2 separate regions of the Homo sapiens genome follow, and region 1 is linked to region 2. Evidence: promoter capture Hi-C in 16 types of primary human blood cells and fetal thymus (Javierre and others, 2016). All regions are on one chromosome and are shown on one strand. The core of a region is centred on a gene start or on the middle of the fragment in contact, and the rest is flanking DNA. Distances in the headings are between cores, read along the strand shown.

The links. Contacts are between HindIII fragments. The CHiCAGO score rates a contact against its expected background, and 5 or more counts as called.
Region 1: a fragment that was not itself captured here is called in contact with the fragment with the promoter of TRAM1 in region 2 in 1 of 17 cell types (M2 macrophages); the score reaches 6.5 in M2 macrophages.

Annotation. Positions count from the first base shown.
Region 1 is chr8:71,828,548-71,833,032 of GRCh38, forward strand. No RefSeq gene overlaps it. Among named protein-coding and RNA genes, the nearest start is that of MSC-AS1, 12 kb to the right of the region's middle. RefSeq lists enhancers at 1,994-3,193, 2,770-2,949. The HindIII fragment of the contact is 1,641 bases long and covers 462-2,102 here.
Region 2 is chr8:70,607,063-70,611,550 of GRCh38, forward strand. It overlaps TRAM1 (translocation associated membrane protein 1), which reads right to left and starts at 1,354. Exons shown (of 11, transcript NM_014294.6): 1 at 1,015-1,354. The coding sequence starts at 1,137. LACTB2-AS1 (LACTB2 antisense RNA 1) reads left to right here and starts at 1,515. Exons shown (of 4, transcript NR_038881.1): 1 at 1,515-1,771. RefSeq lists silencers at 401-850, 871-1,050, 1,101-1,160, 1,221-1,270, 1,351-1,520. The HindIII fragment of the contact is 3,860 bases long and covers 1-3,452 here.

The DNA of each region.
Region 1 (4,485 bases), core at 32-2,531, 1.2 Mb after region 2:
TCTCAGTTTTTGATAATCAGCCACCTTGCTGTAGTAAAGGATCACACTGTGGAATGCTAAAAAAAAATTGCCATTTTAAAGTAGACAATTTACTGGCATTTAGCATATTCCCAATGTCACGAAATCACCATTTCTATAAGTTTCAAAATATTGTCACCATTCCAAACTAAAACCCCTTAGCTATTAAACAGTTTCTATGTTCCCTCCTTGAACTGGCAACAACTAATCTGTTTTTGTCCCAAAGGATTGATCTATTCTGAATATTTTATATAAATGGAATCATACAATGTGTGACCTTGTGTGTCTACCTGCTTTCACTTAGCATAATATTTTCAAGGTTCATCCATGTTGTAGCACGTGTCAGTGTTTCCTTCCTTTTTATGGTGAGAACTTCCAGTGCAGTGTTGAATAGTCATGGTGAAAACAGGCATCCTTGTCTTGTTCCTGACCTTATGGGGGAAAGCTTTCAGTCTTTCATATTGGGTTTGATGTTAGCATAAAGGCGTCTTATGGTGCTGGGGAAGTTGCCTTCTCCTGGTTTTCTGTTTTGTTTTGTTTTGTTTTTTATCGTGAAAGAGTGTGGGATTTTGTTAAATGCTTTTCTATGTCGATGAAGATGATTGTGTGAGTTTTCCCCTTCATTCTATAATGTGTATTACATTGACTGATTTTCTTATGCCACACCATTCTTGCATTTTGGGGCATATAGTACTTTTAATAACTTTTCTTTAAAAATGAAGATGTGTGTAAAGTATTGCACAAATATAGATGAGGTAGAATTAATTCTGCAGGTTAAGGCAGAGGGAGTGGGAAGGGTTTAGGGGAGGAAGACAAAGAGAAGTCAGCCAGTAAAAGACAGACCAGAAATGACCTTAAATGACAAGGGGATTTTTTTTTAAAAAGCCAAACTTTCAAGCAGCATCTTTCTCTAATCCAAGACAGATGAGAAGCCAGTTTCCAAAAATCCAGTTTCATTTTCCTTATCTTTAAAATGATTAGATTATTTTGATTTTTATTGTCATTGCTATAATTATAGTTTCTTATCCTGTTTATTTCATAAAATTTTCCTAGGTATTGCATAATTTGGGGCCATAATTTTACATTGTTGCACAACAGTCCCGGTTAGGTAATTACAGTAACCATATAGTCTTTGTTTTTTATTATCTTTAGAATGCCATGATAAACCAAAGTAGATTACTTATGAGATACCTTCTAGCTCTAAAGTTTTGTGGCTTTATGATTCTACGAAATCTGTACCACAGATTCTTCCCTAACTGCGCAAATTCTACATCACAAATCCTAGACGGTTAGAAAACCTCTCTCTGGCAATTTCATTAAATCTACTGTACTTCTTATATGTTTCAATTCACACATGTTTTCTCTTTTTCTGTCTTTGGTGAAGATGGAAAAAAGTGGATCACTTGTTGTTGGTGGGAAATTGTTTGTTCCTATAACTCACTTAAGCAAGTATCTATTAAGGTCAAACAAAAATGATCAGCTCTTCTAGGCAGACTGGGGCTTCTCCTCGGTCATGGCATTTCTTGGCTCCCCTACCTCAGTTTCTCCCAGGAGCAGTTCTTTGTTCATCTTCAGATTGGCCACTCCCTGCCTCCACTGCTGGGCTCTCCAGGAGTATGTAATTTTGTGAGCTAAAAATCCTAAGTGAGAATAGATCTATTTTCTTTTTAGTTCAGCACATATAAATTGGGTGTTTTTCAAATCATCTTCATTATAAAATAAAGAGGAAAGCAAACCCAAAAAGAAACAAATATGTTTATAGACAAGTGCCACTCCCTGGGTTGCATTGGTGGGCACCGCCAAGGAAGCAGACAGCCTTGACTCCTTTCTGCGCTTTCGTCCCGTGTCAAGCCCTCGGAAGGAGGTATAGCTCTATGGCTCATCCGTTGTTCCGAGTTAACTCCTAAAGTTCAGTTAGTCTCATCGGTGGGCACCATCTTCCCACCAGCTTCCTTTCACCCCAGCAGACAACTTTTGGGGAGGCTCAGGGAATGGTTTTGGGTTCAGATTCTTAGCTAGAGAGAAATAGATTTAAACTCTGATTCCACCAGTTATTCCCTGTGTGGCCCTTGGAAGGTTATTGAAGCTTTGAGAGCCTGTTTTCCCACCCATAAATCAAGACTATCACAGGCCTATTCATGGGCCTGATCAGAGGCATTAAAGGGCTGATATCTGTAAAGCGTATAGCATGGTGCTTAGCGTGTTTACAGTATGAATTTGCCTCTTCCAATTTTAAAGCTTTACATTTTAAAGTACTTTACTGAACTCAGTCAATACTCTTCTTTTTCTGTCTGAGGGCTCCCTAGCACCATCAGATTATGTACAGCAGAAATAGTAGTGTCAAATGGTAGTGACTAATTAGACATACTTTCTTAGTTGTCTGTGATGACTACATATCTCGGGTGGTTCCAGGGTATGGACTTTCCCAAATCAAATCACCCTCGTTTTACAAGTGAGAAGGAATTTAAACTAAAGAGTAGCAATAACTATTTTCTATCAAGAGAAATTTATTAAATATTTATTGATCATCTGCTTTGTACCAGACAGATGGAGGTTGTAATTTCATAAGACACAAAATGAAAAATGATGATTCCTGCTCTGAAGATATTTAGAATCCAATGAAAGAAAAAAGGCATGCTCACATGCGATCAAGGCAAGGGCCCTGTTTCCAAGCTTTGTGTCTCTGAGCTGCACAAACCCCTTCTCTCTTTAAGCTTTCAGTTATGATTTTACCCCCTCTGAAAGAATCTAAGTCCCCAGAGTAAGACCAAATTTGATAAGAATCTGTATGGGCCAATGGATGGTAGAGTTCCCAAATGAATGGCAAAGTTTCTCAATTCTGTACTGTTTCAAACTTGCCCTTTTAAATTTTAGTGATAAATCATGACTCATGATGACTTTGCTATTCACTGTCTGGCCCGAATTAGAAACCTTGTAGTCATTGTGGCTTTTACCCTGGCTTTCATCACACACATCCAGTCTATAACCCAGTTAATTTGATTCTAGCAGTCAAAAGTCTCTTGGCTCTATCCCTGGTATTCCCACCACCATCGTCTCAGCCTAGGCCTCAGTTTCTTTTGCCTGGACTGTCCAACTTGTGCTCTGTTCAATCTATTCTGCACATTGCCAGACAAAGTAGCTTTCTATGAGTCTGTGCTCAGGTGAATCACATATCGGGATATGGGACAGGTTTAAAGGTCCGAGTATAGAAACAACAACAGTATATTTTGAGAAGTCTTGGAGAAAGGTGAAAATTGTCACAGGGAGATGTCCTAACCTAAAAAGGGAAAACTCACTAGATTCTTGAAACGATAGGTCAAATTTCAGCATCTCCTAGGTTGTCAGGAGTTTGAAGAAAACCAGTAGTTGTTTATATATTATACTTTTTCCTGAAGATTCTTTTATTTGGATCTGATGTTTTTCCACTATAATTTTTACTCTGGAGCAAACCAAACTCAATCATAGAATCTTTTTAAAAGGTCTGAACAGATCTTGTGTTTGGGTTTTTTTTTCAGACAGTCTCTTTCTGTCGCCCAGGCTGGAGTGCAGTGGCACGATCTCGTCTCACTGCAAGCTCCGCCTCCTGGGTTCACGCCGTTCTCCTGCCTCAGTCTCCCGAGTAGCTGGGACTACAGGTGCCCGCCACCATGCCTGGCTAATTTTTGTGTATTTTTAGTAGAGACGGAGTTTCACCGTGTTAGCCAGGATGGTTTCGATCTCCTGACCTCATGATCCACCCACCTCGGCCTCCCAAAGTGCTGGGATTACAGGCTTGAGCCACCGTGCCTGGCCAGGTTTTTAAACACTAATGAAAGTTTGTTTTGAGACTAGAACAGTTTTAAGTACCATCATTTCTGTGCTTATTTGGTTTCCATATAATGTGGAGAAGTTGTTTTCTACCTTTGTAAGATTAAATACTTATCACAGAAATGAAGAGTCTGTGGCAAAGTTTATCATCAACAGTGAAATCACGTAGAGATATTACAGATCTTCTGCAGAACAAGTCAAAAGACACCTGAATGGCTTGAGTTTCATCTGTTAGGTTGGTGCAAAAGTAATTGAGGTTTTTGCCATTGAAAGTAATGGCAAAAACCTCAGTAACTTTTGCACCAAACTCATAAAACATTTAAGTGTAGGTTGACTTTGTTCATTTTCTCAAGCTTTCAGCCTCCCCGTATTGTGATGTACTAGCAATAAAGGGAGACATAATCAGTGCTATTCTGAAGACCCACAGTAAGCAGGGCATTCATTTAAAACTATGGTGCAGTTAAGGCCCCATCCAGCCCAGACCCCTCATTTTAGGTGAGAAATCATAGTTGGAAGAGGGAGAGACTGCCCAAGGCCACCCAACAAGTCAGGCTCTGAGAACGCCCCACTTGCAACCCCACGCGGGCTCCGGGGCACTTGGCCAGTGTGCATGGAAAACAGCTGCAGAGAAATAGCTGTCATGGTGCCAAATTCTTATCT
Region 2 (4,488 bases), core at 104-2,603:
GAGCAAAATAATTTGTATATTTACTGAGACATAAAGGCTCCAGAGAAAAATTAAAAAGGGAAAAAAGCAAAGGAATGAGCGTGTGTATTGGGGAGCGAGGGGAAAAACGTAGGATGTTACTCGTTCACCTTGCAAAGTTTATCATCCACATTCAACAGCTGTTAAATAAGTCATCAAAATACTAGATACGTGGGAAGAGAATTTACACACTCCTGACATTCCCATCCTCTCCTACTTCAAGAAACAAAATTACTCGATTCCTTGGCACCGCTGTTCAGAACCTCGATTTATCCATCAGACCTTGTTTCTTTAAAGCGTCAGGGCAAAAAGTTCGTTAACTGGTAATAATATCAGTTTAAAAGACAAAAATGAAAACAATCTGGCGCGCCTCCACTGCGCCGGTGCCCGGCGGCCACCGCCCTTCAAGTCGAAAGCAGATGCCTGACTCCGGTTTCTCGCTCACCCCAATCTCGGAGCTACCGGGGGCTCCCCTGTCACTCGGGGCCTGTGGTCTCCAGGCCGGCACTCCTCAGACCCGGGGGCCGGGCCTCGGCCTTCCCCGGCCCTCGCGGGGCTGACGCTCACCGCGGCCGAGGCTGGCAGTCCCCCCAAGTCCGCCCACCCGCCCCGAGCCAGCTCGGCAGCGCAGGGGCCGCCCCCGCCCGCAGGCCCCTCGCCGGCTGCCACGTAACCCTTCGCGGGAACCAGGAACTGCGCCGCGCAGCCTGCGGGAGGGGGCGGCGGCGGGTCAGGAAGGGGGCGACGCGGCGGTCCCCACCCCCTGCGGGCCGCGATGAGGCCCACCGGGACTTTGCATCTCCGGGCCGGCCGCCGGGGAGCTGCCGCCGACGTGGGGCAGGGCAGGGAAGGCCTGCACCTCAGGGACTGGGGGTCTGCACCCACCCCGGGCCCGAGCCCCCCGCGTCCTGGGCGGAGAAGCCGGGGCTGGCATCTGGAGCCCGGGCCCGGGCTGGAGGTGGCGGGGCAGGCGGTTGGGACTCGGGGCGGGCTCACCTCAAACATGAGCCCCAGCAGGAAGACCATCGCCACACAGGAGACGATGTCCGCGTGATTCTGCAGGACGAATTCGTGGCTCAGCACTGGGGGGCTCTTGGTGCTTTTCTTGCGAATCGCCATGGTGGGGCCGCCGCCCGCGCCTGCAGGTGCTCCGCCCCGGTTCTGCTCTTCCCAGCTGCTCACCGACTCGCCGCCGCCTCCCGCTGGCTGCTCCTCACGGCCCCGCTGCAGCCGCTCGCTGGGGCTTCACTTCCCATCCCACAGCCAGTACGCAGCCGCCGGGCCGCCCGGGGGAAAAAAAAAAACACAACAGCTAGCCCGCAGCGGGGGCGAGCATGCGCACCAGGGAGACGACGCTCCCTGGTGCCGCGGCCGCCTCCGCGAGCCCACAGCGCCACCTGGGGACCGGAGGCCGCTGGCCCGCGGCCGGGCGAGCGTGCAGGAATGTGAGCGGCGCTTCCCTGCTTCGCGCCGGGCCCGGGTTTGGGAGTCGTTTGAGGCGCGAGCTTCCTGCGCCTGCTCAGCAGCCTGAGGCCGCGGCCGGGTGCCCTCCTGCCCTCCTGGCCATCCAGGGATTGGGTGTCAGTGGCCTGTTGCACATTGTCACTTCTACAAGTGACTAACACCGTCAGGATAATCTAAAACTACGAATACTACCTGACTCCACAAGGGTACGGTGTATTCTCCAGTTTTAGCATCTGCCTTAAAAATTACCTCAGAGTTAAGCACTGCTGGGGACTTATTTCTACTCTTGGTAAGTTTGGACTAACTTAAAAAAAAAAAAAGAGCTGACCCTATTCTGGTCTGCCTCTCCGTCCCCACCCCCATCCCCGTCCCCATCCCCACCCCTATCCCCCACTGGCCTCAGACTGAAGACGAAGGGATCAGTTTGGGTTTACTGGCTTCACATATATTCAAATTAACAACATGTTTTAGTAATCTAAGGGAAATAGTAAAAGAGTTAAAAAGGATCGTGGATTAAGACACGTCCTCCTCTTATCGTTTTGCCCAAACCTGGAGTCCTTTGTATTCTTTTTCCTGAAGAATTGCTCTCCTGTTTACCCATAAGCCAAATGTAGAAACCAAAGTCATGCTAGATTGAGCCCTTTCAGCGCCCTTCCACATCCAGTCATCACCAATTCGAGGCAGACCTATCACCCCGCTTCCCCACTACCGCAGTCCGAGGGTACTTGCCTCTTGCCTACAATATTACAACTCTGGTGTAACCACTTAGTGGTTTAAGAATGTGGGTTGTTAAATCAGAATTCTGCCACTTATTACTTGTACGATCAAGGACAAGTTACTTAATCTCTATGGGACCCGATTTCCTCATTTTTAAAAATGTATTCATTTATGTACTTACTGAGGGTTGACTGTGTCCTGGGCACTGGGGATACAGAACTGAAATACAAATTAAATTATTCCTAGGGACTTATCATTCTAGTGTGGGAGAGAATCTTTAAACAAGATTTCAAAAGCGAAACAGATGTTAAATTGAGTTGAGCAACCAGGAGAAAAATAAAGCAAGGGGAATAGGAAAGTGCGAGGCACTTATACTTGCCTGAAGACCTGCAGGAGGTGAGGGAGCAAGCCCTGTGGATATCATCTATAAAGTGGGGATAACTATTGCTCATTTTAGTGATTAAATGAGATGATTGAAGGAAACTGCTTAGCGGGGAGTAAGGGCTTTATAAATTTAGTCAGGGATTATTCTTTTCCTCCTTCTGGGCAATCACTAGTTTCATTTCCCTTCAGATCACCTTTCAACGTTTATACTAGAATGATGCTTCTACTGGCAGAAAGTTTTTCAGCGGGTTCCCTTTCCCTTCATGGAAAGCTAGCATGATGAAATAGCCCTTTCTGATTTGGTCCTTGCCTACCCCAACAGACTGGAGCCCTGCATCTACAGGCCATAATCTCTGTACCAGCATTATTGACTACACACACTATACAGTTGCCTCTCCATATCTGTGGGTGCCGCATACACTGTGGATTCAACCAACCTGGAGTAAAAGATATTCAAGAAAAAAACTGCATTTGTACTGAACATCTACAGACTACCCCCCCATGATTATTCCCTAAATAATATAGTACAGCCAACTATTTATTTAGCAGTTATGTTGTGTTATTATAAGTAATCTAGAAATGATTGGAGGTCTGTGGGAGGATTTAGGATATTCTTTACCAGAATATTGCATCATCTTATATAAGGCACCTGAGCATGGGTGGATTTCGGTATCCGCGGGGGCCCTGGAACCAGTCCCCTGTGAAGACTGAGGGACGACTGTACATGCCATGACATGCTCTCTTCCCATGCTCTCCCCTGCCTTTGCGTGTACTGCTGTCTCTGTCTGGAATGTTTTCTCCTGTCCTTTCATAGACACAGCAGGCTCCTGCTGTTCCTTCATGTCTCATTTACACATGACCTCTTCGAAAGCTTCACTGAATTCTGTGACCTAAGCAATTTATCTTTTATGATTCAATTGCATTTTTGAAATAGTTTTATTGCAGTATAATTTATGTCATATAGTTCAGCTATTTGAGATATTCAATTCTGTGGTTTTTAGTATGTTTGCAAAGTTGTGCAACAATCACCATAATATAACTTTAGAACATTCTTGTAATCTCTAAAAGAAACCTTATACACATTACCAGTAACTCTCCATTTCCCCTCATAGTCTTGGCAGCCCTTGGCAACAACTGACCTATTTTCTACCTCTCTATATTTGCTTATTGTGGACATTTCTTTTTGTTCTTTCTTTGTTTCTTTTCTTTCTTTTTTTGAGATGGGGTCTTGCTCTGTTGCCTAGGCTGGTGTACAGTGGCATGATCATAGCTCACTGCAACCTTGGACTCCTGGCCTCAAGAAATTCTCCCACCTCCCAAAGTGCTGGGATTACAGGTGTGAACCACCATGGCCAGCTTGGACATTACATGTAAATAGAATCATGATCTTTTGTGACTGACTTCTTTCACTGAAGATAATGTTTCCAAGGTTCATCGATGTTGTAACATGTATCAGTACTTCACTCCTTTTTATGGCCAAATAATATTCCATTGTATGGCTATAGCACATCTTATTCATCAGTTGATGAACATTTGTGTACAAGTTTTTGTTTGAACTCAATTCCTTTGGGTATATACCTAGCAGTGGAATTGCTGATCATAAGGCAACTTTATGTTTGACGTTTTGAGGAACTCTCACACTAATTTCCAAAGTGAATGCACTATTTCCCATCCTATTAGCAATGTGTAGAGGTTCCAATTTCTTCCCATCCTTGCCAATACTTTTATTTTCTGTCTTTTAATCTTATCTGTCCTAGTGGGTGTGAAGTAATATCTCATTGTGATTTTGCTTTGCATTTCCCTGAGCACTAATGATATTGACTACTAGCCTTATCAGGTGCTCAGAAGCCATCTGTATATCTTTTTTTGTAGAAATGTCTATTCAAATCCTTTATCATTTCTAAG